5 separate regions of the Homo sapiens genome follow, and regions 2, 3, 4 and 5 are each linked to region 1. Evidence: promoter capture Hi-C in human tissues and cell types (Jung and others, 2019). All regions are on one chromosome and are shown on one strand. Each heading gives the region's core, a stretch centred on a gene start or on the middle of the fragment in contact. The rest is flanking DNA. Distances are from core to core; before and after follow the strand shown. Region 1 holds the start of AKR1A1 (aldo-keto reductase family 1 member A1). Region 2 overlaps MAST2 (microtubule associated serine/threonine kinase 2). Region 3 overlaps MAST2 (microtubule associated serine/threonine kinase 2). Region 4 overlaps MAST2 (microtubule associated serine/threonine kinase 2). Region 5 has its middle 21 kb from the start of LINC01144.

Evidence for each region. The method cuts DNA at HindIII sites, captures the fragments that hold promoters and counts their contacts. A contact is called where the count stands out against the background at its distance.
Region 2: a fragment that was not itself captured here is called in contact with the fragment with the promoter of AKR1A1 in region 1 in 1 of the 25 tissues and cell types used here (neural progenitor cells).
Region 3: a fragment that was not itself captured here is called in contact with the fragment with the promoter of AKR1A1 in region 1 in 1 of the 25 tissues and cell types used here (adrenal gland).
Region 4: a fragment that was not itself captured here is called in contact with the fragment with the promoter of AKR1A1 in region 1 in 1 of the 25 tissues and cell types used here (bladder).
Region 5: a fragment that was not itself captured here is called in contact with the fragment with the promoter of AKR1A1 in region 1 in 1 of the 25 tissues and cell types used here (hippocampus).

The regions. Positions count from the first base shown.
Region 1 is chr1:45,548,666-45,554,338 of GRCh38, reverse strand. It overlaps AKR1A1 (aldo-keto reductase family 1 member A1), which reads right to left and starts at 3,513. Exons shown (of 9, transcript NM_153326.3): 1 at 3,184-3,513. RefSeq lists enhancers at 3,041-3,260, 3,491-3,720, 3,771-3,830. The HindIII fragment of the contact is 19,939 bases long and covers 1-5,673 here.
Region 2 is chr1:45,946,873-45,952,545 of GRCh38, reverse strand. All of the region lies in intron 4 of MAST2 (microtubule associated serine/threonine kinase 2), which reads right to left. Among named protein-coding and RNA genes, the nearest start is that of MAST2, 150 kb to the right of the region's middle. The HindIII fragment of the contact is 3,569 bases long and covers 1,107-4,675 here.
Region 3 is chr1:45,866,742-45,872,414 of GRCh38, reverse strand. The region is part of intron 3 of MAST2 (microtubule associated serine/threonine kinase 2); the gene reads right to left. It overlaps LOC105378694 (a long non-coding RNA gene), which reads left to right. Exons shown (of 5, transcript XR_001738038.2): 5 at 4,444-4,531. Among named protein-coding and RNA genes, the nearest start is that of MAST2, 66 kb to the right of the region's middle. RefSeq lists a silencer at 4,384-4,678. The HindIII fragment of the contact is 5,380 bases long and covers 708-5,673 here.
Region 4 is chr1:45,814,816-45,820,488 of GRCh38, reverse strand. The region is part of intron 1 of MAST2 (microtubule associated serine/threonine kinase 2); the gene reads right to left. Among named protein-coding and RNA genes, the nearest start is that of MAST2, 14 kb to the right of the region's middle. The HindIII fragment of the contact is 3,473 bases long and covers 1,702-5,174 here.
Region 5 is chr1:45,280,409-45,286,081 of GRCh38, reverse strand. No RefSeq gene overlaps it. Among named protein-coding and RNA genes, the nearest start is that of LINC01144, 21 kb to the left of the region's middle. The HindIII fragment of the contact is 3,771 bases long and covers 264-4,034 here.

The sequences.
Region 1 (5,673 bases), core at 2,264-4,763:
CTTTCCATTCAGCCTCCCAGGTAGCTGGGACTAGAAGCATGGGCCACGATGTCCAGCTCATTTTTTGTGTTTTTCGTAGAGACAGGGTTTCTCCTTGTTGCCCAGGCTGGTCTGAAACTCCTGGGCTCAAGTGGTCCTTCTGCCTCAGCCTCCCAAAGTGCTGGGATTATAAGTGTGAGCCACTATGCCTGGCCTTATTTTTCTTTTGTAGAGATAGGGTCTCACTGTGTTGCCCCCTCAAACTTCTAGCCTCAAGTGACCCTCCCACCTTGGCCTCCTAAAGTGCTGGGATTACAGGTGTGAGCCACCACACCTGGCTTTCTCCTATACTTCTTTTTTTTTTTGAGACGGAGTCTCGCTCTGTCACCCAGGCTGGAGGGCAGTGGCGTGATCTCGGCTCACTGCAAGCTCCGCCTCCCGGGTTCATGCCATTCTCCTGCCTCAGCCTCCCGAGTAGCTGGGACTACAGGTGCCCGCTACCATGCCCAGCTAATTTTTTTGTATTTTTTAGTAGAGACAGGGTTTCACCATGTTAACCAGGATGGTCTCGATCTCCTGACCTCGTGATCCGCCCACCTCAGCCTCCCAAAGTGCTGGGATTACAGGCATGAGCCACCACACCCGGCCTCTCCTATACTTCTAGAAAAGCCAGCTTGGAAAATCACCTTACATATGTAATGTTGGCCAGATTTTGTCAGTTTAGCTGGGTTTTAAATCTTGTTAATACTTAATAGCTACAGAAAAAGAGAATGCTCTAATATGTAACCTAAGACCTAAGATTGCAATAATGCTTCCTGTACTTCTTGATGTATGTGAAAAGAATTTTAAAATATATATTCCTAAATCTTTCTCTAGTCCATCCATATCTACCTCCACTGCCACTGCCCCATCTCTGACCACCACCACTCTTTTTTTTTTGAGACAGAGTCTCGCTCTGTCGCCAGGCTGGAGTACAGTGGTGTGATCTCGGCTCACTACAACCTTCGCCTTCCAGGTTCAACCGATTCTCCTGCCTCAGCCTCCCCAGTAGTTGGGACTACAGGCGCATGCCACCACACCCAGCTAATTTTTGTATTTTTAGTAGAGACGGGGTTTCACCATGTTGGCCAGGATGGTCTCCATCTCTTGACCTCGTGATCTGCCCGCCTCAGCCTCCCGAAGTGCTGGTATTATAGGCATAAGCCACTGTGCCCAGCCTTTTTAAATTTTTTTTTGAGACAGAGTCTCACTCTGTTGCCCAGGCTGGAATGCAGTGGCATGATCTCGGCTCACTGCAATCTCTGCTTCCCGGGTTCAAGTGATTCTCCTGCCTCAGCCTCCCCAGTAGCTGGGATTATAGGTGTGTGCCACCACACCCAGCTACTTTTTGTATTTTTAGTACGGAGAGGGTTTCACCATGTTGGCCAGGCTGGTCTCGAACTCCTGACCTCAGGTGATCCACCCACCTTGGCCTCCCAAAGTGCTGGGATTACAGGCATGAGCCACTGTGCCCAGCTGACCATCACTCTTTACTTAAACCACAGATCTTGGCTTCCAGAGTGGTCCCTCTTCCCGCAGTCCATCACCAGATCCAACCATGTGACTCCCAGTCTCAAACCCTTCCAGCAATTCTCCCCTATATTCAGGATAAAGTCCAGGCTTCTCAAAACCTGGCTTCTATCTTTCTCATTTCACCACCTCCTCATGTCAGACTGTATTCCAGACTTTGAACACTCAACAGGGTCACATCACTTACCTGACTCTAGGTGTGTGCACTTTCCTTCCCCAAACCCTACCTTTGCCTGGCTAGCTGCTGCTCATCCTTCAGCTAGCACTTCACATTTCTGGCTCCTTTCCAGGTGCAGTGGCTCATACATGTAATCTCAGCACCTGGGCAGGCTGAGGCGGGAGGATCACTTGAAACCTGGGCAACAAAAGGAAACACTGTCTCTACAAAAATTTGTTTTTTTCTTTCTGAGTCTGCTTGCTAGGGGGAATTTTTTTTTTTTTATTTTAAAGATTAACTGGGCACAGTGGCATGTAGTTTATAGTCCAAAGGCTGAGGTGGCAGGATTATTTGAGCCCAGAAGTTTGAGGCTGCACTGAGCAAGGATTCCACCACTACACTCCAGCATGGGCAAAAGACCGAGAGACCCCCATCCATCTCTAAAAAGAAAATAAATAAATAAATAAATGGATGGCTACTTCCATGTACTGATAGCATGTGCACATCACTACATTTTTCTGTTTATATATAAATTTCCCCCACAAACCTGGCTACTCCTTGAGGTCTGAGCCTGTCATCTGCCTGAACCCCTCACTCCTAGAGTACCTGTCCCATACATACATACATACATACATACATACATACATACATACAATGTACACAATACACACACCACACACACACAGCTTATGGGGGAGAGATCTTGACAGGTTGAGTTTGGCCAGCTGGAAGGACATTTGAGGAAGTCGCTGCCTCTGTCACCTTCTTCCTTTACCTGTTGGAAAACCTGAAAAGAATCCTCTTGGAGAATATCAAAGCACTTTACTATACTCGGCAAAAAATCCCAGTGGACCAGATAGAATCATACTGAGATTGCTCCTGTATTAAAGATAAGGAAACAGATCTTGGAAAAGTAACAGGCCTGCAGCCCTGAGTATGAACGATCTGAAGGGGAAGAGTTAATTAACAGTAGCCTCATCCAGTGAAGGTTCAGATCTGTGTCTTACTTTAACAGAGTTCTGGGGCAACAGAATAACATGTCAGACTTTCTCAGACCCAAAGCAGGTGTCTAAGTAAGAGAATTATCCCCACTTCTCCCCACTTCTGAGAACTATCCCTGCACCTGCATAAGAAAGCCGGAGCAGCTGGAAAAAGCACATAGGTGAGCAAACAAAAAGATGGCAATTAAAACTTGCAGATCACCTAGTATGCGCTGTGCGCCTTCAAAGCTTTATCTCAATTCTTGCTACAGTTCTAATGTAGGACCTCATTTTATTGCTGAGGAAACAGGTTCAGAGAAACTGGGAAGTTAGCAAGAGATCATACAGAGAAAAAGAAGAGCTCAAATCCGAAACCAAGTCTCGTCCCCTCCAGTGCTCTGCGCTCTCCACTCAACCCCAGGGGCTTACATTTCAGTAGTAAAGAATCGAGGCCATCTCCTCCGGGAGAAAGATAGGCCAGCAGCAAGAGAAACTCACCTTGGCACAAGCACAGAGCGTGAATAGGGTACTGTGGCCTGGGCTCAGTTCTGCACCCCGCCAGAGATCCAACGATCCTCAGCTTAAGTCTGGCGGTGAGGGGGAAGTTCCACCCGGAGGGAGGGGCAGGGGCCGGGCATAAAGGATCACGCGCAGGGTGGACCGCCTTCGCCGCCTCCCGAGGAAGGACCTGAAGGGGATGGAAAACAGAGCTGGGAGGTAGTACCGTCTCCACCTCTGGATCCTCGAGGTCGAACTGGCCGGAACTTGGTCACTCACTCCGCAGCGCGGGTTTGGAGAACTCCTGGGCACAATGAGGCAGGTGGCGCTGGCCACGTGGGCGGTGCAAGGGGCGGGGCCAGCCTCGCCTTTTGCTGGCCCACATTGCACCGCGCGCCTAGGCGCCGCCGCAGGCGCTTTTCCGGGGGAAGTAAGGTAGCAGATGCCACGTTGCAGGTTCTTCTGGTGTCGGCCCTCCGGATTCACAATGCCATCCGTGGCTCCATACTCTCCCTAAAGTCAGGTTGGCTGGATTCCCAAAGTTCACCTAAGTTGGCCCCGTTACATTTAGTTCAAGCAAACTGAGGCCCAGAGAGCAGCTGCAACACCAAGATTGGCCAGAATACAGAAGACCTCGCGTCTGCAGATCCAGGCGCTGGAAAGTGCCTGGTCCCCCTGTCTGGACCATAGACCCCGCCCAGCACGTTATGTGCCAGGCACTGTGCTTAACACTTAATAAACATGGTTTTATTGAATCTTCATAATAATCCTGGAAAAGGAATATTCCTTTTTTTTTTTTTTTTTTGAGACGGAATCTCGCTCTCGCCCAGGCTGGAGTGCAGTGGCGCGATCTTGGCTCACTGCAACCTCCGCCTCCCTGGTTCAAGCAATTCTCTGCCTCAGCCTCCCGAGTAGCTGGGATTACAGGCGCCCGATACCACGCCTGGCTAATTTTTTTGTATTTTTTAGTAGAGACGGGGTTTCGCCATCTTGGCCAGGCTGGTCTTGAACTCCTGACCTCGTGATCCACCCGCCCTGGACTCCCAAAGTGCTGGGATTACAGGAGTGAGCCACTGCGCCTGGCCGAAAAGGAATATTCTTTTATTTCGTACAAGCCTTTTTAAAAATCGTAGTATAGCATATATACAGAAAATACACCAGTCTTTTTTTTTTTCTTTTTCTTTTTTTCCTATTCTACATCCAGGAAGAAAGAAAATGTATAAATCTTAAATGTATACAGTTCTTTTTTTTAAATTATTTTTTGCAATGTAACTGCCATCCAGAGGAAGATATTACCAGCACACCATAAGCCTGTGAGGAAAGTATTCATAATCCATTTTACAGATTGGACAGACTCAGCAAGGTTAAGGCTATTTATAATTTTCCCAAAGTCACACAGGTATTAATTAAATGACACATCTGCGATTTGAAATAGTCTGTGCTGTTTGAGTGGAGAGGTGTCTTGCATGTATGTGTTTTCCTTGGCAGGGATGGGCAAGACACAGGGTTATCTCGGTTTGGCTCTGCTTTTCCCCACACCTTTACTCCCTGAGAGCAACTCTTCCCATTTCCCCACCCCCGTTATCCCCCACTGTCTCCCCAACATAAGTGATGTCCTGGTGGACCAAATGTCTAATGTATCAGGCCATCCTCATAAAAACAATCAGACTTGGCCGGGTGCGGTGGCTCACGCCTGTAATTCCAGCACTCTGGGAGGCCGAGGCAGGCGGATCACCTGAGGTCAGGAGTTAGAGACCAGCCTGACCAACATGGAGAATCCCCGTCTCTATTAAAAATACAAAATTAGCCGGGCGTGGTGGCACATGCCTGTAATCCCAGCTACTCGGGAGGCTGAGGCAGGAGAATTGCTTGAACCTGGGAGGCGGAGGTTGTGGTGAGCTGAGATTGCGCCATTGCGCTCCAGCCTGGGCAACAAGAGTGAAACTCCATCTCAAAAAAAAAAAAAAAAAAAATTCAGCTAGGCGTCGTGGCGCGCACCTGTAGTCCCAGATACTCAGGACGCTGAGGCAGGAGAATCGCTTGAACCCGGGAGGCGGAGGTTTCAGTGAGCCGAGATCGAGCCACTGCACTCTAGCCTCTTGACAAAGCGAGACTGCCCCTCAAAAAAAAAAAAAAAAAAAAAAAAAAAAAAAAATTAGCTGGATGTATTGATGCGAGCCTGTAATCCCAGCTACTTGGGAGCCTGAGGCAACAGAATCACTTGAACCAGGGAGGCGGAGGTTGCAGTGAGCTGAGATCGCGCCACTGCACTCCAGCCTGTATTCAAAAAAAAATAAAATAGGCCAGGCATGGTGGCTCACGCCTGTAATCCCAGCACTTTGGGAGGCCGAGGTAGGCAGATCACCTGAGGTGAGGAGTTCGAGACCAGCCTGACCAACATGGAGAACCCCCATCTCTACTAAAAATACAAAATTAGCCAGGTGAGGTGGCACATCCCTGTAATCCCAGCTACTCAGGAGGCTGAGGCAG
Region 2 (5,673 bases), core at 1,642-4,141, 400 kb before region 1:
TTTTAGATATATTTCCAACAATATAAAATTCACCCTTTTAAAATGTACAACTCATTCATTTTTAGTATATTCACAAGGCTGTGCAAGCACTGCCACTATCTAATTCCAGAATATTTTCATTGCCAAAAAGAAACCTTGTACCCATTAGCAGTCATTCTCCATCCCATTCTCCCCACAACCAACCACCAACGTACTGTCTCTATGGATTCACTGTCTCTGTGGACTCTACGTATTCTGGACATTTCACAGAAACTGAATCATACATTATGTAGTCTTTGGCTTCTTTTACTCAGCATGTTTTCATGCATGTTGTGGCATGCATAAATTCTCCATGCCACAATTGTTAATCCTTTCATAAAATGACAAGGTATTTGGGTTGTTACTACTTTTTGGTTATCATAGATGCTGCTGCTGTGAACATTTGTTTACAAGTTTTTGCATGAACATATATTTTCAATTTTCTTGAGTGAACTTTCTTGCTGAGCTCTTTTACTTTAGTGAATTCTTGAGGGTTCTTTAAGATATTCTCTTTGTTTTCATGGCTCTGCAGTACTGCAATGTATCTAGATGGGGATTTATTTTTATTTATTATAGTGGGGACTCACCATGCTTCAAGATGTTCCTTGTTTGTTTCTAATCAGTTCTGGAAGGTCTCAGTCATTATCTCTATGAATACTGCCTCTTCCCATTTCTCCATATTCTGTTGGACCATCTGATCATATCTTCTGTATTTCTTAGCTTTCATTCATAGTTTATATCTTCCCATTTCTGTCTTGCACTCTTGATAAAAATTTTACTTTGTCCACAGCTCTATTATTTAACACGACTGTTGCATTTTCAATTTCAACAACACAATACATATATTTTATTCCTCGAATTCTAATTAGCTTTTTGTCCAAATATATTTGGTCTTTTTTTCTCTTGTTTCTGTTTCCTTCTTTTATATTCTTTTTTGTTTGTTTTGAGACAGGGGATCACTCTGTCACCCAGGTTGGAGTGCAGTGGCTCAATCTCCACTCACTGTTGCCTCTATTTCCTGGGCTCAGGTGATCCTCCCACCTCAGCCTCCAGGGTAGCTGGGGCCACAGGCCCATGCTACCATGCCTGACTAAGTTTTGTATTTTTTGTAGAGACAGGGTTTTACCATATTGTCTGGGATGGTCTTGAACTCCTGGGCTCAAGTGATCCGCCCGTCTTGTCCTCCCAAACTGCTGGGATTACAGGCATAAGCCATCATGTCCAGCCTCCTTCTTTTATATTCTTAATAATTTTAAATATACTAATCTTACAGTCTTAATCTCTAATGTTACTTTGTTTTTCTTTTTGAGACAGGTTCTCACTCTGTCATCCAGGCTAGGGTGCAATGGCACAATCACAGTTCACTGCAGCCTTGACCTCCCTGACACAAGCAATCCTCACCTCAGCCTCCCAAGTAGCTGAGAAAACAAGCATGCACCACCATGCCCAGCTAATTAAAAAAAAAAAAATTTAGTAGAGATGAGACTTCACTATGTTGTTCAGGCTGGTCTTGAACTCCCGGGCTCAAGCGATCCTCCCACCTCAGCCTCCTAAAGTGCTGGGATTACAGGCATGAGCCACCACACTCAGCTAACATTCGTATTTTTTTGTAGAGACAGGGTTTGACCATGTTGCCCAGGCTGGTTTCGAACTCCTGGGCTCAAGCAGTCCACTCGCCTCAGCCATCCAAAGTATTAAGATGAAAGTTGTGAGCCACTGTGCCCACCCTCTAATGCTACTTTCTGAAGTTCCAAACTGTTTCTTTTATCTATTGATTTTCACTTAGGGGAGATTGGTTGGTTGGTTTGTAATTTTGTACTACAAACTTACCTTCAGTGAAGCTGCATTTATGAGAATCCTATGATACCTGATTTGAGGGTATGTCACTTAATAGAAGTGTTAAGTTTGTTTCTGACAGATGAGCCAGAGTTATTACCAGCCCAGAACCAGCTTCTAGACCACACAAAGAGTATAAACTCCAACCCCCAATTTCAGTTAAGTGAAGGCTTACAGGTAGAAATTTTCAAGGGAGACGTCTTTCCTTTATTAAAAGCCCTATTTAAAATCCAGATGAGATTAAGAAAGTTCTTTTTATCTGTACATGCCAGTGGTTTTCCTAGTCCATTCCTGCACTGAGGGTGAAGTCTTTTGAGGGTCCTAATTGTATGTAGGGGGTGTCCATTCTAATTGCTTACACTAAACAAGCCAAGACCTCATCTTTTTTCCCCTCAAGGTTATTGAGACTAGCACATCTCCTCCCTGACCCCATTTTTGGAAGCTTCAAAGCTGGCTCCCACTGTTATTATTATTATTTTTTAGGTTCAGGGGTACATATTCAGGTACATAGGTAAACTCCTGACACAGGGGTTTGTTGTATAGGTTGTTTCATCACCCAGATATTAAGCCTAGCACCCAATAGTTACTTTTCCTGCTCCTCTCCCTCCTCTCTCTCTCCACCCCCAAGTAGACCTCAATGTCTGTTGTTTTCCCTTCTTTGTGTTCATGAGTTATCTTCATTCAGCTCCCACTTATAAGTAAGAACATGCGGTATTTGGTTTCCTGTTCCTGGGTTAGTTTACTTAGGATCGTAGCCTCCAGCTCCATCCATGTTCTCGCAAAAGACATGATCTTGTTCTTTATGGCTGCATAACATTCCATGGTATATATGTACCACATTTTCTTTATCCCATCTATCATTAATGGGCATTTAGGTTGATTCCATGTCTTTGCTAATGTGAATAGTGCTATAATGAACATTCGTGTGCATGTGTCTTTATGGCAGAATGATTTATATTCCTCTGGGTATATACCTAGTAATGAAATTGCTGGGTCAAATGGTACTTCTGCTTTTAGCTCTTTGAGGAATCACCATACTGCTTTCCACAATGGTTGAACTAAATTACACTCCCACCAACAGTGTGTAAGTGTTCCCTTTCCTCCACAACCTTGCCAGCATCTGTTATTTTTTTACTTTTAACAACAGCCATTCTGACTGGTGTGAAATGATAGATCTCATTGTGGTTTTGATTTGCAGTTCTCTAATGCTCGGTGATATTGAGCTTTTTTTCTTATGCTTGTTGGTCGCATGTATGCCTTCTTTTGAAAAGTATCTGTTCACGTCCTTTGCCCACTTTTTAATGGGGTTGTTTTTCTCCTGTAAATTTGTTTAAGTTCCTTATAGATGCTGAATATTAGACCTTTGTCAGATGCAGATTGCAAATATTTTTTCCTATTCTGTAGGTTGTCTGTTTACTCTGTTGATAGTTTCTTTTGTTGTGCAGAACCTCTTAAGTTTAATTAAACTTGTCCATTTTTGCTTTTGTTGCAATCGCTTTTGGTGTCTTTGTCATGAAATCTGCCCATTCCTGTGTCCAGGATGGTACTGCTTAGGTTGTCTTCCAGGGTTTTCATAGTTTTACGTTTAAGTCTTTAACGCATCTTGAGTTGATTTTTGTATATGATGTAAAGGAGGGGTACTATGTAGCTTCAGTCTTCTGCTTATGGCTAGCCAGTTATCCCAGAACCACTTACTGAATAGGGAGTCTTTTCCCCATTGCTTGTTTTTGTCAGCTTTGTCAAAGATCAGGTTATCATAGGTGTGTGGCCTACGATTTTAAAACCCCTGATTTTTAAAATAGGCTCTCTGTTCTGTTCTATTGGTTTATGTCCCTGTTTTTGTACCAGCACCATGCTGTTTTAATTACTGTAGCCCTGTAGTATAGTTTGAAGTCAGCTTTGTTCTCTTTGCTTAGGATTGCCTTGGCGATTTGGGCTCTTTTCTTGTTCCATATGACTTTTTTTTTTTTTTTTTTTTTTTTTTTGAGATGGAGTCTCACTCTGTCGCCCAGGCTGGAATGGAGTGGCATGATCTCAGTCCACTCCAATCTTCACCTCCCAGGTTCAAGCAATTCTCCTGCCTCAGCCTCCCAGGTAGCTGAGACTACAGACACACACCACCACATGCAGCTAATTTTTTGTATTTTTACTAGAGATGGGGTTTCACCATATTAGCCAGGCTGGTCTTGAACTCCTGACCTCATGATCCACCCGCCTTGGCCTCCCAAAGTGCTGGGATTACAGGCGTGAGCCACCGCACCCGGCCCGGTTCCATATAATTTTTTAAATAATTTTTCTAGTTCTGTGAAGAATACTCTTGGTAGTTTGATAGAAATAGCATTCAATCTATAAATTGCTTCAGGCAATATGATCATTTTAATGATATTGATTCTTCCTATCCATGAGCATGGTATGTTTTTCCATTTGTTTGTGTCCTCTCCGATTTCTTTGAGCAGTGTTTTGCAATTCTCATTGTAGAGATCTTTCACGTCTCTGGTTAGCTGTATTCCTAGGTATTTTATTCTTTTTGTGGCAATTGTAAATGGGACTGCCTTCCTGATTTGGCTCTCTCCCTGGCTGCTGTTGGCGGATAGGAATGCTAGTGCTTTCTGCTAGTGATTGATTTTGTATCCTGAAACTTTGCTGAAGTTGTTTATCAGCTTAAGAAGCTTTTGGGGCCAGGCGCAGTGGCTCATGCCTGTAATCCCAGCACTTTGGGAAGCCAGGGCAGGTGGATCACGAGGTCAGCAAATCAAGACCATCCTGGCTAACATGATGAAACCCTGTCTCTACTAAAAATACAAAAAATTAGCCGGGTGTGGTGGCGGGCAACTGTAGTCCCAGCTACTCGGGAGGCTGAGGCAGAAGAATAGCATGAACCTGGGAGGTGGAGCTTGCAGTGGGCCGAGATGGGCCCTCTACACTCCAGCTTGGGCGACAGAGCGAGACTCCGTCTCAAAAAAATAAAAGAAGCTTTTGGGCTGAGACTATCAGGTGTTCTACATATAGAATCATGTCATCTGCAAACAAGGGTAGTTTGACTTCCTCTCTTTCTATTTGGGTACCCTTTATTTCTTTCTCTTGCCTACTGCTCTGGCTAGCACTTCTACTCTTATTGATTAGGTGTTGTTTTCTCTCTCTGATTTGGGTCCCTCAGGGTTTTCCTCATGTTCTGCTGAAATCAGCTATGCATTTAAAACAACAATGATAATATCTAACAATTACTAAGAGCTCACTGGGCTTGGTTTAAAGCTAACTTGTCCAACTGGCAGCCCACAGGCCACATGCAGTCCAGGACAGCTTTGAATGTGGCTCAATACAAATTTGGAAATTTTCTTAAAACATTATGAGGTGTTTGGGTTTTTTTTTTTTTTTTTTTTTTTTTAAAGCTCATCAGCTATCATTAGTGTATTCTGTGTGTGGCCCAAGACAATTCTTCCTATGTGGCAGAGGGAAGCCAAAAGATTGGCTTGTAAAACTAACAACCCTGGTTTAAAGCATTACATGTAGTATCTCACACCCTATGAAGCAGCGACTATTATTATCCCTTTATTTGGACAAGGAACTGAAGGCTAAGAAATGCTACATAGCTTTCCCTAAGTCAAGATAAAATAATAACATTATTTGAAGGCCTAATCTAACTTGAATTTTCTTTGCCCTCGGACTTTCTTAGTGTGGTGCTTCATCCTCAAATGATCTAAAAGTCAAGTATCCAGAAAATCAAGGGCATTTTATGTGGCCTAACTTCATGGACGAGAGGACAGCAATAAGTACCCTAGGGACTGGTGCAAAACTCTGACGTAGGCACAAATATTGGGG
Region 3 (5,673 bases), core at 2,148-4,647, 320 kb before region 1:
ACTAAAGCCATAAAATATTTCCAAAGAAAAGACAAAGGCCAAGTGTCCAAAGGCAGTAACCGCTACCCCCACAAGTAAATATGCAAGCCAGGAGTCACAAGGCTGGTCCTTGTCCTTTATGTCAACAGTCACCAGCGTGGAGATGACTATGGGTCAAAGCTGTCTATGCCTGAGGCAACTCCCTCCCTGGGACTCAGCCTGGCTCATTTGCTATTGAATTCTCACACTATACGTATATTGATCCCTACTGCAGTAGCAGCACTCTTTCCAGAGAAGGAAATTAACAGACTCTAAGAAACATAACCCAATAATCCACTCCATTGGAAGTGGATAGAGAATTGGGTTTTGGAGACAATAACTTTTCAACTAACATTTAAAATCAACGAGGCAAGGTGCTGTGGCTCACGCCTGTAATCCCAACACTTTGGGAGGCCACGGTGGGAGGATCACTTGAGCCCAGAGTTTGAGACCAGCCTAGGTAACATAGTGAGAACTCAAGAAAAACAAACAAATCAATGATGAAAAAAAGGTATTCTCTGCCACTAAAATATTATATGTCTCTTGATATAACTCATAATTAAACCCACATAATGTAACTAACATAAATAACACTGCTTGGGCTTAGGGTAGGAGTGGTGAACATTCTAGGGCCTACTCAGAATCCACTGCTGATGACAATACCATTGTCAAAGGACAAAATTACAACAGATTTAGTTTAAAGATCAAACTGACTTTCAGTTTAAAGATCAAACTGACTTTTGTTTGCAATTCTGTAACATCTCATTCTTAAAAATAGAATGCGTGTTCTGCTGAGCTAAGCAGAGGGGGCTGGCTTTCTAAGCAGAAAATGGGTTAAGAAAGCACAAACAGGGAACAAAAAGCAGATTATTCATTACAAAGTGACTCTCCTTATAGAGTTAAAACAGAACTTTCTTATCATGCTAGCTCAGGTAAACTGGGTCACCTCTGGTTACAGTGAATTTCATGGTTTTGTTGTTGTTTTTTAAACTGGCCTGTTTCAGTTCAGTTTGATTACATGGCCAAATAAGTTTGGGGGAGGTAATAAGAGACATGGAGTGCTTGTAGTGTTCAGGAGGGGGTTAAAGTTTGAATTTGTTCTAACACACCAGTAGAAATAGAAAAAGAAAATAAGAAAAAAAACTCTACCAATATTTTTAAAGGGTAAAAAAAAAAGGGGACAGTAAGGCATAGAGATGTAGGATATGGAATACAAAAAATAATATGGCACAAACAAGTCCAAATATATCATTAATCATAATAAATGTACACAGACAAACTTTTCATTACAAACAGGACTTTTTTTTTTTTTTTTTAAAGAAAACCTACTGTATGCCATTTGCAAGAGATATACCAAAAGCAAACTGATATGAAAAGGCTGAAATAAAGGGATAGTTGGTTTCTGGAAAAACTAACAACAACAAAAAAAATCTTCCATGAATTTTTGTTGTTGTTATTTTAATTTTTTTTGAGACACGGTCTTGCTGTCACCCAGGCTGGAGTACAGGGGCACAATCATGGCTCACGGCAGCATCGACCTCCTAGGCTCAAACGATCCTCCCACTTTAGCTTCCCAAATAGCTGGAACTACAGGTGTGCACCGCCACGCCTGGCTACTTAAATTTTTTTTTTTTTTAATTTGTACAGACATCTCACCATGTTGCCCAAGCTGGTCTCCAGCTCCTGGGCTCAAGTGATTCACCCACCTGGCACTCTCAAAGTGCTGGGATTATAGGCATGAGCCACTGTACTCGGCATTCCACTGATACTTGATAATGAAAAAAAAGAGTCTTAATACCCAATATTAGAAATACAAAGAGAAACAGAAGAACAAATCAGCAAAGGTTTAAAAGAACAAAAATTTTATATATATATATATATAAACAAATTGATCTCAATAAATAACAAAATAAACAAAATGGACAAACTCTTAAAAACATATACCTTACCAAAACTACCTCAAGATGAAAAGTAGGAAACTTACATTATATACATGAGCATTTTAAAAAACTGAATCATACATTATTCCTGAGTTGGGTTTACCAACAAAATGTGAATGTGGTTATACAATAAAAAATTCACAAATGTTATATACCTCAAATAAATTGAGAAAAAATAAAACAATATCAGATGATACAGAAAGGCATGTCAAACAGGTATACAAAGAATCAAAAGCTGGGCGCAGTAGCTCATGCCTGTAATCCCAGCACTTTGGGAGGCCAAGGTGGGCAGATCACCTCAGGTCAGGAATTCGAGACTAGCCTGGCCAACATGGCAAAAGCCTGTCTCTACTAAAACTACAAAAATTAGCCAGGCATGGTGGCAGGAACCTGTGATCCCAACTACTCAGGAGGCTGAGGCTGGAGAATCGCTTGAACCCAGGAGGCGGAGGTTGCAGTGAGCCAAGATTGCACCATTGCACTCCAGCCTGGGTGACAAGAGCAAAACTCTGTCTCAAAAACAAACAAACAAACAAACAAACAAAAGAATCACAGGAACAGAGATCTTCAAGACTTTAGAAAAAGGAAAGGGAGAGAGCTAAAAAAAGGTGGAGGTCTTTACATTGAGAAACAAATGGTGCAAACTCAAATGCTTTAATAAGCCAGTAAGGTAATATACTGTACTTTATCAAATCTGAAAAACTATCAATTGCAAAAGACACTGTTATTTTTTGTAACAGTAAGAAACATTTTTTAAAATGCAAAACAAAAATAAGCCTGGCCAATTAACGTATAACACACCATCAAGAGTAACACCGCTATTTCAAAGCTGTTATAAAGTAAAAAGATGTGAGCCTTAGAATAGATGAAATTCAGTAAATACATAAAGCAGCAGAGGATAAAACAAAAGGGGACTGATAGAGACTATGTTGGTTGATTTTTCTTTAAATCTCCAAAGGTGGCTAAATAAAATATATCTACAGGAAACAGTCACCAGACCACCAATTTGTGATCTAGATTTACACAGAGAACACCAGAATTTAATTCAGAGGTGATCAAGGGATGTAACTGTAAATCACTGTAAGATTTCTGAATCAAACAGTTCCCTCTACAGAATACATGGCATCTACAGGAATGTATTGTTAACACAGACTCCAGATAGCCAAGGAACTCTAAAGATCTGAGGCTGGACTGATTATCCTTGTCTACAAAGATACTGGAGTTACCCATAATGACTATAATATTTGAAAATTAGGTACTCAGGTTTTAACTGCATGGGGATTATCAGAAGGTTGATAGGTAGAAAAGGAGGATAAAACCACTCAGGAATGGGGGGAATGTCAGAAAAAAATGACTATGAAAAAAACAAACAAAGGTACAAGACTGGTGTAGCTGCAACATAGAATAGGAATACATGAGTCAGGGCAAAGAAGAGGGACAAGAGTGAGATAAATTCCTTAACCTTCAAAGCCATCTAATTTACTGACTTGATGAAAATATCTTAGTGGTACTAAAAACTGAAGAGTACAAACTGAAATGTTTCTTTTATCAAGCTTCCCACAGAAAAGAACAAGGAAATGTAGAACAACAGAAGCAAATAATTAGGTTACATTTTTATCCATGTCATCAGCCTTTTTAAAATGAAATTTCAAGAAGAAATTGAATGTTTGAAATCTACCTGGTTCTTGAAGATTTTGTTTTTAAAGACTAAAAATTAGCTGAATCACATTTTGTAAGATGACCATAATTTATGACAGTCATAATTTGCAAAATAAAAAAAGTCCCAAGGCTTTCTCAATAATAATGCTTCCCAGTATGCATTATGTTGTCATATATCCTCCAAAATAATTAAGTACCCGTAAACAATGACACTCTAAGTACTCTCGTTTTTGAACAGCAAAGGCAAAAAGCAAGCAGGGGGTTGGGGGGGGTGCATAAAAATACTATACAATTTAGTTTTTGCCTGAAGGCAATAATTTTATCAGCACAACAAATATTTTCAATTCAGAACCTGGGAAATTGCACTGTCTATACAATGAAGACAGATTACTATATGTGCCTTATGGGCAAATAATGTGGAAATTATGGCACTAAGAGAGTTGATAACAAAAATTTGCTTATGGTGGCTAGTCCCTGACCTTTCAAAGTTAAAATCATCCCCCATAAAGTTGATTGGGAAACAGGGCAAGTATAAAAGCACCTCCTTCAATTCACAAGGAACTTCAATCTCAAATGTCTCTCCATGTGTAGATGCTTCAAAAGTAGATGTAAGATGAAAGCCAATTTTTACCACAAAAAAGACCCAACTTGAACAGCTTTTCAAGCAAAACAGTGTCAATTCCTACACCGACAGAGGCTCCTCCAGTGTAAAGAAAAGATGCTCACACATAATCTCCCAGATGTCCTTTTACCATTAAGATGTAGGGATGTTGTAGTGTGTGACTGTGCAGACTGAAACTGCTACAGTTCTTTTTCTAACACATAGGAAGCAAGCTTGAGAATGAGGCCAAAACACAGAGGAAGGCAAAAGAGCAATGAAGCTGAGCAAATACACCAGACTACCCAACTCTGAAACCCATCCAACCTCTGGACTTCATTGTTGTGAGTCAATACATTTACCTAACATTTAAACCACTCAGAGTCAAAATTTCTGTTACTTGTAGTTCAGAGTACCCTAACCTATACATCTAGCCTGGCCATACACCTACTTGTCTGTCCTTGAGGAAGCTACTGAGCTTCACGTATCTGTAAAAATGGCCAATAAGAAAGTCCTCCACATCGTCCACTGCTATCACCCCTCCAATCTGTTATTATTTCTTGCTTTTTTTGACCACAACAGTCTCATAATTGGTCTTTTTGCTGCAGCCCTTGCCTCCACTGTCTACTCTCAATATACCAGTGGAGTACAGAAATGAAATGAAATTTGGCTGTGGTTATATGACTAGAACATGGCAGAACTGTAATTTGAACAAAATAGACAAGGTCTTTGCTGTCACGGAACTTCTAAATGCCCTATTTACTATTCTGCTACCTCCCCAAGAAACTCTGCGGAAAAACCTGGAGGTATCAAAGTAGGCTGTGTCTTAGCTGATCTTCTGGAAAAGTTTTAGGAAATCTATTTCACCAGAAAGCAATTAGCGAAGCCAAATATTTATTTGGATTTTCACCTTCAAATCTGAGGTTACCCAGTAGATTACCTGTACCACCAGGCACACTTTACCTTTGTGTGTTTATTTATATAAATCTATTAATAAAACTTACCTTTAAATCTTTATATTATAATGTAACTATTTAAAACAAATAATCTAAACTGCTGCTTTTCAAGCGTTAGCTCTGTTTTGGAATGTTCCAAAGCAATCTTCTGGAGAATGAACCTTAAAGTTTATTTTTTAAAAATAGGCAAAATAGGCTGGGTGCGGTGGCTCACATCTGCAATCCCAGCAATTGGGAGGCCGAGGCGGGTGGATCACCTGAGGTCAGGAGTTTGAGACCCGGCTGGCCAACATGGTGAAACACCGTCTCTACTAAAAATACAAAAAATTAGCCAGGTGTGGTGGCACATGCCTGTAATGCCCCAGCTACTCGACTCCGGAGGCAGAGGCAGGAGAATCACTTGAACCTGGGAGGCAGAGGTTGCAATGAGCCAAGATCACGCCACTGCACCTCCAGCCTGGGTGACAGAGTGAGACTCCATCTCAAAAAAAAAAAAGTAGAC
Region 4 (5,673 bases), core at 2,189-4,688, 270 kb before region 1:
TGTATACTACAGAAGTTAAACTGGTACCATTTCAAACTAGACTGTTATAAATTTAGTATGTTACATGTAATCCCCATAGCAACCAAAAAAAAATTCTAAAAAACACACACAAAAGGAAGTGAGAAAAGATCCCCTTGATCCAGTTTTGCTTTGGTTGCCTCTGCATGTGGGGTATTTATTGCTCAAGAAATTTTTGCCCAAACCAATGTCCTAGCAAGTTTCCCCAAAGTTTTCTTTTAGTAGTTTCAGAGTTTGCAGTTTAAGATTTAAATCTTTAATACATTTTTGATTTTTGTATATGGGAAGAGATAGGGATCTAGTTTCACTCTTCTGCATGTAGATATCTGCATATAGATTTCCAGTTTTCCGAGAACCATTTATTGTACAGACTGTCCTTTTACCAAAGTATGTTCTTGGCACCTCTGTCAAAAACCAGTTCACTGTAAATGTATGGATTTATTAATGGGTTCTCTATTCCGTTCTATTGGTCTCTGTTTGTTTTTATGTCAGTACCATGTTGTTTTGGTTACCATAGCTTTCTAGTATCATTTCAAGTCAGGTAATGTCATTTCTCCAGTTTTCTTCTTTATGTTGAAGATAGCTTTGGCTATTCTGAGTCCTCTGTGGTTCCACGTAAATTTTAGAATTGTTTTTTCTATTTTTGTGGAGAATGTCATTGGTATTTTGAATATGGATTGTATTGAATCTGTAGATTGCTTTGGGTACTATGGACATTTTAATAGTGATTTTTCCAATCCATGAACATGAAATATCTTTTCATTTTTTTAATGTCCTCTTCAATTTCTTGCATCAGTGTTTAATAGTTTTCATTAGAGAGATCTTTCATCTCTTTGGTTAATCCCTAGGTATTTTATTTGCAGCTACTGTAAATGGGGTTACTTTTTTGATTTTTTCAGATTGTTCACTGTTGGCATACAGAAACACTACTGATCTCTGTGTGTTGACTTTGGATCCTGCAACTTTACTAAATTTATCAGTTCTAATAGTTTTTTGGTGAAGTCTTTAAGCTTTTGCCAAATATAAGATCAAATCATCTGCAAACAAGGATAATTTGACTTCTTTTCCAATTTGGATACCCTTTATTTCTTTTTCTTGTCTAATTACCATAGTTAAGACTTCCAGTACTACTAGGTTGGTACAAACGTAATTGCGGTGGTTTGCATGATTAGAATTTGTCATCTGATATTGGAATACATTCTTTTTTTTTTTTTTTTTGAGACAGACTTTGCTCTTGTTGCCCAGTCTGGAGTGCAATGGCATGATCTCGGCTCACTGCAACCTCTGCCTCCTGGGTTCAAGCGATTCTCCTGCCTCAGCCTCCCAAGTAGCTGGGATTACAGGTGTGTGCCACCATGCCTGGCTAAGTTTGTATTTTTAGTAGAGACAAGGTTTCACCATGTTGGTCAGGCTGGTCTCGAACTCCTGAACTCTGGTGATCCACCCACCTCAGCCTCCCAAAGTGCTGGGATTACAGGCATGAGCCACTATGCCCGGTCTTGGAATACATTCTTAAATAAATGTCATTATATTATACATCATTTTAATGTTCATTTTTTATGTTTTTTGGCTAGAGACTTATTTACTTGCTGTTTATGTTTTAGACTATGGGAATGAAGTTAGATAAAAAGCAAATATGAGCAATTTTTGAATAAGTTCAAAATGGGTCGTAAAGCAAAGGAGACAACTCACAACATCAACAATGCATTTGGAGAGGAACTGCTAACAACTGTACAGTGCAGTGGTGGTTCAAAAAGTTTTGCAAAGGAGGCAAGCCTTGAAGGTGAGGAGTGTAGTGGCCGACCATCGGAAGTTCACAACGACCAATTGTGAGCAATCATCTCTTAGAACTACACAAGAAGTTGCCGAAGAACTCAACATCGACCATCCTACAGTCATTCAGCATTTGAAGCAAATCGAAAAGGTGAAAAAGCTCGTTAAGTGGGTGCCTCATGAGCTGAGTGAAAATCAAATAATCATCATTTTGAAGTGTCATCTTCTCTTATTCTACAGAACAATGAACCACTTCTCGATCACACTGTGACATGCAAGGAAAAGTGGACTTTATATGACAACCTGTGACAACCAGCTCAGTGGCTGGACTGAGAAGAAGCTCCAAAGCACTTCCCAAAGCCAAACTTGCATCAAATAAAGGTCACGGTCACTGTTTGGTGGTCTGCTGTCAGTCTGATCCACTACAGCTTTCTGAACCCCAGTGAAAGCATAACATCTGAGAAGTATGCTCAGCAATCTTAATGAGATGCACCAAAAACTGCAACGCCTGACACCAGCATTGGTCAACAAAAAGGACCCAATTCTCCACAACAACACCCAACTGCACATCACACAACCAAGCTTCAACAAGTGAACGAATTGGGCTATGAAGTTTTCCCTCCCGCCATATTCACCTAACCTCTCACCAACCAACTACCACTTCTTCAAGCATCTCGACAACGTTTTGCAGAGAAAACATTTCCATGACCAGCAGGATGCAGAACATTCTTTCCAAGAGTTCGTCAAATCCCAAAGCATGGATTTTTACACAACAAGAACAAACATTTCTCATTGGCGAAAATGTGTTGATTGTAATGGTTCCTATTTTGATTAATAAAGATGTGTTTGAGCCTAGTTATAATGATTTAAAATTCACAGTCCAAAACCACAATTACTTTTGCAACAACCTAATACCATACTATGTCTGGAAAAGTTGTTGTAGTTATTATTCTTGATCAATTCATCTTTTCATGATATGAGTCGTTTATACACCATAATTATTGTTATTAATATAGTATTCTGTGTTTTTCTGTGTACTTACTATTACCAGTCAGTTTTGTACCTTCAGATGATTTCTTATTGCTCATTAACATCCTTTTCTTTCAGATTGAAGAACTCCCTTTAGCATTTGTGTGGGACAGGTCTGGTGTTGATGAAATTACTCGACTTCTCTGTCTTATGAAGTCGTTATTTCTCCTTCATGTTTGAAGAATATTTTCACCAGATATACTATTCTAGGGTAGAAGTTTTTTCCTTCAGCACTTTAAATATGTCATGCCTCTCTCTCTTGGCCTGTAAGGGGTTTCCACTGAAAAGTCTGGTCCCAGACATATTGAAGCTCCATTGTATGTTATTTGTGTTTTTTCTCTTACTGCTTTTAGGATCCTTCATCTTTTACCTTTAGAAGTTTGATTATTAAATGCCTTGAGATAGTCTTCTTTGGGCTAAATCTGCTTGGCATTCTAGAACCTTATACTTGAATATAGAAATCTTTCTCTAAGTTTGGGAAGTTCTCTGTTGTTATTCATTTCGATAAACTTTCTACCCCTATCTCTCTACCTCCTCTTTAAGGCCAAAACGCTTAGATTTGCCTTTTGGAGGCTATTTTCTAGATCTTGTAGGCATGCTTTTTATTCCTTTTTATCTTTTTCTTCTTTTGTCTCCTCTGGCTGTGTATTTTCAAATAGCCTGTCTTCGAGCTCACTAATTCTTTCTTCTGGGGCCAGGCACTGTGGCTCACGCCTGTAATCCCAACACTTTGGGAAGCCGAGGCAGGTGGATCACGAGGTCAGGAGATCGAGACCATCCTGGTTGACACGGTGAAACCCCGTCTCTACTAAAAAACAAAAAAATTAGCCAGGTGTGGTGGCACACACCTGTAATCCCAGCTACTTGGGAGGCTGAGCCAGGAGAATCGCTTGAACCTGGGAGGCAGAGGTTGCAGGGAGCCATTACGCCACTGCACTACAGCCTGGGCAACAGAGCGAGACTCCATCTCAAAAAATAAATAAATAAATAAATTCTTTCTTCTGCTTAATCAGTTCTGCTATTAAAGGACTCTGATGCATTCCTTAGTATATCAACTGCATTTTTCAACTCCAAAATTTCAGCTTGGTTCTTTTTAATTATTTCCATTTCTTTGCTGAAGTTACCTTAGGGGATTCTGATTTCCTTATCTGTGTTATCCTGTATTTCTCTGAATTTCCTCAAAATGGGTATTTTGAATTCTCTGTCTGAAAGGTCATGTATCTCTATCTCTCCAGGATTGGTCCCTGGTGCCTTACGTAGTTTGTTTGGTGATGTCATGTTTTCCTGAATGGTCTTAACGCTTGTGGGTATTTGTCAGTGTCTGGGCATTGAAGAGTTAAATATACATTGTAGCCTTTGCGATCTGGGCTTGTTTGCATCTGTTATTCTTGGGAAGACTTTCCAGGTATTTGAAGGGACTTGGGTCTCTCTCTCTCTCTCTCTCTCTTTCTCTCTCTCTCTCCCCCCCACCCCCAATACCAAGCTGCCTTTCTTGGGGTTGCCAGAGACTACCTCTGCCACAGGCTGCAGAAAAGCTTTTCCAGATCTCCTATCTGTGCTTGGGAAAAAGGCCTTTACTTGCATTCAAAATTGTTATAACTCAAAACTCTGTGTGTCTACAAGGAAAAAGAGGAGGCTATGGTTCCAGGCTGTCTATAACCAAAATAAATGGATTTCTGTATGGTTCTAAGCTAAGGACTACATTGGGGTTTGAGTCCTGTGGCAGGGACTAGTTAGATGTTGATCAAGCATGATTCACCTTCCTCCTAGGCACAGGCCACATGACATTTCCCAGCCCTCCAGTAGTTAGGCATGGCCCTGAAACTGAGTTCTGGCAATGGAATATGAGTGGAAGTGATTAATCCATTTCTAGGATTGGCCCATCCTCCACTTTCCTCAGCTGAACTTGGAAGCCATGTGTAGAAAATGGAAGCACCTCAATCAAGGGGTCCTTGTGAATCAGTTACAGCAAGTAATGTTCTTTAATATAAAAGACCAAAGACTGAGCTAGTCACAAAGTATCACTTTCTCTTACTGGTTAAAGGTAGAACTTAAATGTTCCTGGGTCATTTAAACAAAAATCACCTTGGTAACACCCCTATGAAATAACTTAAGGACTTTAAAAAAAAACTATTAACAACTATTTCTAAATCCTCTGCTTTTCAAAACATTCCTGAAAGCCTAACAGATAGAAAGTCTGACCAGTCACGGTGGCTCACACCTGTAATCCCAGCACTTAGGGAGGCTGAGGAGGGTGGATCACCTGAGGTCAGGAGTTCAAGACTAGCCTGCCCAACATGGTGAAACCCCATCTCTACTAAAAACATAAAAATTAGCTGGGTGTGATGGCATGTGCCTGTAGTCCTAGCTACTCAGGAGGCTGAGACAGGAGAATCACTTGAACCTGGGAGGCAGAGGTTGCAGTGAACCGAGATCACGCCATTGCACTCCAGACTGGGAGACAGTTTCAAAAAAAAAAAAAAAGAAGATCTGACAAAACTATATTACTTCTGCTTTGCTGAAATAACGGCAAAGAAACGATGTAGCTTATTAATCTCCAACAAATTAATGGTTAAAGGATATATGCATCTACTACTCAGGTTCACTCTTAAGGAACCTACACTCAAGCTGGTACAACTAAGATGGTATCACCTAATTTTAACACATGGTTCCCTTGGGCTGAATTTTTCTTAATTACATTCTAAAACCTAGGGAGACTATTCTATCTTCTAAGCCAGTTACTTAATAAAAAAATCCATAAAAGTTTCCCTGAAGGGGAAAATGCACAAATTAAAGTCTCCTTTCAAGCTGAATAAAATAAAAGAACAGTTTAATAACACCAACAAATCAAAG
Region 5 (5,673 bases), core at 900-3,399, 270 kb after region 1:
GTACACCAATCAGACATAGATTTGGTCTTTTCACATAGTCCCATATTTCTTGGAGGCTTTGTTCGTTTCTTTTCATTCTTTTTTCTCTAAACTTCTCTTCTCACTTCATTTCATTCATTTGATCTTCCATCACTGATACCCTTTCTTCCTCAGTATCCGAATCGGATACTGAGGCTTGTGCATTGATCACGTAGTTCTCATGCCATGGTTTTCAGCTCCATCAGGTCCTTTAAGGACTTCTCTGCATTGGTTATTCTAGTTAGCCATTTGTCTAATTTTTTTAAAAGGTTTTTAACTTCTTTGCCTTGGGTTCGAACTTCCTCCTTTAGCTCGGAGTAGTTTGATCGTCTGAAGCCTTCTTCTCTCAACTCGTCAAAGTCATTCTCCATCCAGCTTTGTTCCTTTGCTGGTGAGGAGCTATATTCCTTTGGAGGAGGAGAGGCGCTCTGCTTTTTAGAGTTTCCGGTTTTTCTGTTCTGTTTTTTCCCCATCTTTGTGGTTTTATCTACCTTTGGTGTTTGATGATGGTGACGTACAGATGGGGTTTTGGTGTGGATGTCCTTTCTGTTTGTTAGTTTTCCTTCTAACAGTCAGGACCCTCAGGTGCAGGTCTGTTGGAGTTTGCTGGAGGTCCACTCCAGACCCTGTTTGCCTGGGTATCAGCAGCGGAGGCTGCAGAACAGCTGATATTGGTGAACAGCAAATGTTGCTGCCTGATCATTCCCCTGGAAGTTTTGTCTCAGAGGAGTACCCGGCCGTGTGAGGTGTCAGTCTGCCCCTACTGGGGGGTGCCTCCCATTTAGGCTATTTGGGGGTCAGGGAACCACTTGAGGAGGCAGTCTGTCTGTTCTCAGATCTCAAACTCCGTGCCGAGAGAACCACTACTCTCCTCAAAGCTTTCAGACAGGGACATTTAAGTCTTCAGAGGTTTCTGCTACCTTTTGTTTGGCTATGCCCTGCCCCCAGAGGTGGAGTCTACAAAGGAAGGCAGGCAGGCCTCCTTGAGCTACAGTGGGCTCCACCCAGTTCGAGCTTCCTGGCCGCTTTATCTACTCAAGCCTCGGCAATGGCAGGTGCCCCTCCCCCAGCCTCGCTGCTGCCTTGCAGTTTGATCTCAGACTGCTGTGCTAGCAATGAGGGAGGCTCTGTGGGTGTAGGACCCTCCCAGCCAGGCGCAGGATATATTCTCCTGGTGTGCCGTTTGCTAAGACCGTTGGAAAAGCACAGTATTAGGGTGGGAATGACCCGATTTTCCAGGTGCCGTATGTCACCCCTTTCTTTGACTAGGAAAGGGAATTCCTTGACCCCTCGCACTTCTCGGGTGAGGCGATGCCTCGCCCTGCTTCAGCTTATGCTCAGTGCACTGCACCCACTCTCCTGCACCCACTGTCCAACACTCCCCAGAGAGATGTACCCGGTACCTCAGTTGGAAATGCAGAAATCACCCGTCTTCTGTGTTGCTCACACTGGGAGCTGTAGACGGGAGCTGTTCCTATTCGGCCATCTTGGCTCCACCAACCAGTGTCATTAACTTTAAAAAAGATGGTCAAAAGAGAAGTAGGGGTAGTTCTTGACTTAATTACAACCTGTAATTTTGTACATTACACTTTGATATCTCTAAATAAAGCTTTTTTTTTTTTGGGATGGAGTCTGGCTCTGTCGCCCAGGCTGGAGCGCAGTGGCACGATCTCTGCTCACTGCAAGCTCCGCCTCCTGGGTTCACGCCATTCTCCTACCTCAGCCTCCCAAGTAGCTGGGACTAGAGGCACCTGCCAACACGGCAGGCTAATTTTTTTGTATTTTTTTTTTTAGTAGAGATGGGGTTTCACTGTGTTAGCCAGGATGGTCTTGATCTCCTGACCTCGTGATCCACCTGCCTCAGCCTCCCAAAGTGCTGGGATTACAGGCATGAGCCACTGCACCCGGCCTAAATAAAGCATGTTGAATGTTTGCACATCTGCTGATAAGTGAACATTTTTATCTCATACTGTGCTAAGCAATTCTGGTTTTGCCAACTTTGTCAGTACAAGATGATTTGTACAGCTATTTGATTTTTTTGTGCATTTTACTGGTATTTTATATAAATAAGTGGGAAATGGAAAAATGAAGTTGCTGATAGTGGTGACAAAATGCATATTTTATAAATTTATTACAATTGAGATCCAATAGCCACCATTAAGTTATGCTGAAAATGCTGACTCTTCATGCTAATTTGGATGCCCATTGGTGTTTATTCAGTTCATTCTGTGTTGATTTGCAAGGGAAAAAAATTAAAGAACATGTACTCATACAACCTAATAGTGAGAAAACAATAACTAAATTTAAAAATGGGCAAAGGAGTCTGGGCACAGTGGCTGTTGCCTGTAATCCCAGAACTTTGGGAGACTGAGGTGGGAAGATCGCTTGAAGCCAGGAGTTTGAGACCAGCTTGGGCAACATAGTGAGACCCTGTCTCTATAAAACACAACCCCCCCTTTTTTTTTTTTAGATGCAGTCTCGCTCTGTTGCCCAGGCTGGAGTGCAGTGGCGCCATCTCAGCTCACTGCAAACTCCACCTCCCAGATTCAAGCGATTCTCCTGCCTCAGCCTCCCAAATAGCTGGGATTACAGGCACACACTACCATGCCCAGCTAATTTTTGTATTTTTAGTAGAGACACGGTTTTACCATGTTGGCCAGGCTGGTCTCAGACTCCTGACCTCAAGTGAGCTGCCTGCATAGACCTCCCAAAGTGCTATGATTACAGGCGTGAGCCACAGTGCCTGGCCTCTACAAAAAAAAATTTAAAAAATTTGTCAGACATGGTGGCATGTGTCTGTAGTCCTAGCTACTCAGGAGGCTGAGGCAGGAGCATCACTAGAGCCCAGGAGTTCAAGGTTGCAGTGAGCTATGATCGCAGCACTCTAGCTTGGGTAACAGAGGGAAACCCTATCTCAAAATCAAAAAAAGAAAGAAAGAAGAAAGAAAGAAAGAGAGAGAGGAAGGAAGGAAGGAGAAAAAGAAAGAAAGAAAGAAAGAAAGAAAGAAAGAAAGAAAGAAAGAAAAAGAAAGAAAGAAAAGAAAAGAAAAAGGAAATTGTAAACTTTGTGAAAACACTTCAAAATGTTTTTTATAAAATACTGAAAAGGGAAACAACAAAAATGACCAATATGTTAGGGGTTAAACATATGACATTTTCTAGAAGATTGGGGCTGATGAAATATTTACTTTGCTAATCTGCAATGTATATGGGAATGCTATGGGAAAATAGCATTAGAATCAACAACACAAATAATTATTAAAGTATTAGTGCCATAGTGCATAGTTACCTGTTTTTACCTTAAGACCACATCTCGATAAATGTGAGCATTCCTTTCTCTAAATTTGCTACTTACGATGTGAAAGCAGCTCTTTTCCAAATGATCTAGAGTATAATTTTTAAGAAATCAGAAGAATTGTGTTGTTAGCTATTAGCTACTATTGAAGCTATTTCACTTGCAAAGGAAGGAAAGCAAACCCACAAATGTTGAGCAAATGCCAAAATGCCAAAAAGGTCTTACAAAATGGTACAGAGACCACAGGGAAACAGCTGTGTTTCTGACAAGCAGCGTGCTCCATCCTGGAAATACAGGAATTAAAGGAGTTAATGAACATGAGGAAGGAAAGGGAAGTATGATCCAGTCTTGGCTAACTTTCACCTTGGAGGAGCTAATAACAATTCTAGAAATAAAGCAGCAGGAGGAGAAACTACTGATAAGGGTAGCTCAAAATTTGAGGCCCGTGAGATTAAATCTGAGCCAATTTTGCTTTATTTTTGCTGAAGATTTTTTGCAGAGATGAATGCTGTTTGTATTTGAGAGTTGAGAAGACATAATTTACTTATTTATTCAGTCAGCAAATGTAAGAGGTGCTGGGGATCGTAATGTTTGAGGGAGACTTGAAGTTTCGTATGATGGATGGGCCAAGTGACGGTGCTGGGGATTGTGTGGGGTGTTCCAGGCAGAGGGAACAGTGTATGGAGAGGCACAGAGGATGGGCAGATGGTGATGGTAAAGGAATGATTTTCTCTATGTAATAGTGGGAAGGAAAAATGTTGCTCTTCAGAAAGATAATTCCTGGCTTATTATCACTTCCAGGGAAGGGACAACATTCGCAGCACGGATAGGTGGTTCTTTTTTGTTTGTTTTTTCGCTCTTGTTGCCGAGGCTGGAGTGCAATGGCATGATCTCACTCACTGCAACCTCCACCTCCAGGGTTCAAGCTATTCTCGTGCCTCCGCCTCCCGAGTAGCTGGGATTACAGGCATGCGCCACCACGCCCAGATAATTTTGTATTTTTAGTAGAGATGGAGTTTCACCATGTTGGTCAGGCTGGTCTTGAACTCCTGACCTCAAGTGATCCACCCACCTCAGCCTCCCAAAGTGCTGGGATTACAGGCGTGAGCCACCGCGCCTGGCCAGGTGGTTCTTTTTATTGAGGAAACAGCCAGTGATTCTTGGGAGGGGTAAGGAAGGGAGGGGGAGGTATGAGATAAAGAGAGCAGAATTGCTCTGCTCAAGAAAGGAAGAAGTGAGAGGAATTTGGAGTTTGGGGCAGCCTGGGGGAATAGGCCTGAGAAAGTTGGAGAGAGGGGGTCAGTGAGGAGAATAAATGAGAAGATGGGAAGGTCCAAGGAAGAACCTTAGGTCAAATAGAGAAGTCATCATGAGCTGGAGAACAGGAGAAGCAGAGATAAGGGGAACACGAGATTTTTCCAAGGAATATACAAAACACAAAGTTTTTTAGCACAGACTTCCACATTGTGTGGGACAGGGCTTGAGTAATTTTTTTTTTTTTTTTTTGACACTGTGTCTTGCTTTGTAACACAAGCAGGAGTGCAGTAGCATGATCATGGCTCACTGCAGTCTCAAACTCCTGGGCTCAAGTGATCCTCCTACTTCAGCCTCCAGAGTAGCTGGGACCACAGACACCCACCACCATGCCCAGCTAATTTTGTATTTGTTTTTTTGTGGAGACAGAGTCTCATTATGTTGCCCAGTCTGGTTTTGAATTCTTGGCCTCCAGTGATCCTCCCACTTCAGCTTCCCAAAGTGCTGGGATTACAGGTGTAAGCCATCACTTCTGGCCTGAATTTTTAAAAATTTTTATTTATTTATTTTATTTTTTATTTTTTTTGAGGCGGAGTCTCACTCTGTCACCCAGGCTGGGATGCAGTGGCGTGATCTCGGCTCACTGCAACCTCTGCCTCCTGGGTTCAGCAATTCTCCTGTCTCAACCTCCCAAGTAGCTGGGACTACAGGTGCGCACCACCACACCTGGCTAACTTTTGTATTTTTAGTAGAGATGGAATTTTGCCCCATTAGCCAGGCTGGTCTTGAACTCCTAACCTCAGGTGATCCATCCTCCTTGGCCTCCCAAAGTGCTGGGATTACAGGCGTGAGCCACCGTACCCAGCCATTTATTTATATTTTCATGGACAGAGTCTTGCTCTGTTGTAAGCTACTTAAGAGACAGGGGTGGGAGGATAGCTTGAGCCTGGGAAGCGGAGGTTGCAGTGAGCCAAGATGGTGCCACTGCACTCCAGAGTGAAGACAGGGGAGACTCTGTCTCAAAAAACAACAAAAAAAAAAAAAAAAAAGAAAAAAGAAAAGGAAGAAAGAAAATCCCTAGATATAATGGCTGTGCCACTTTGAGT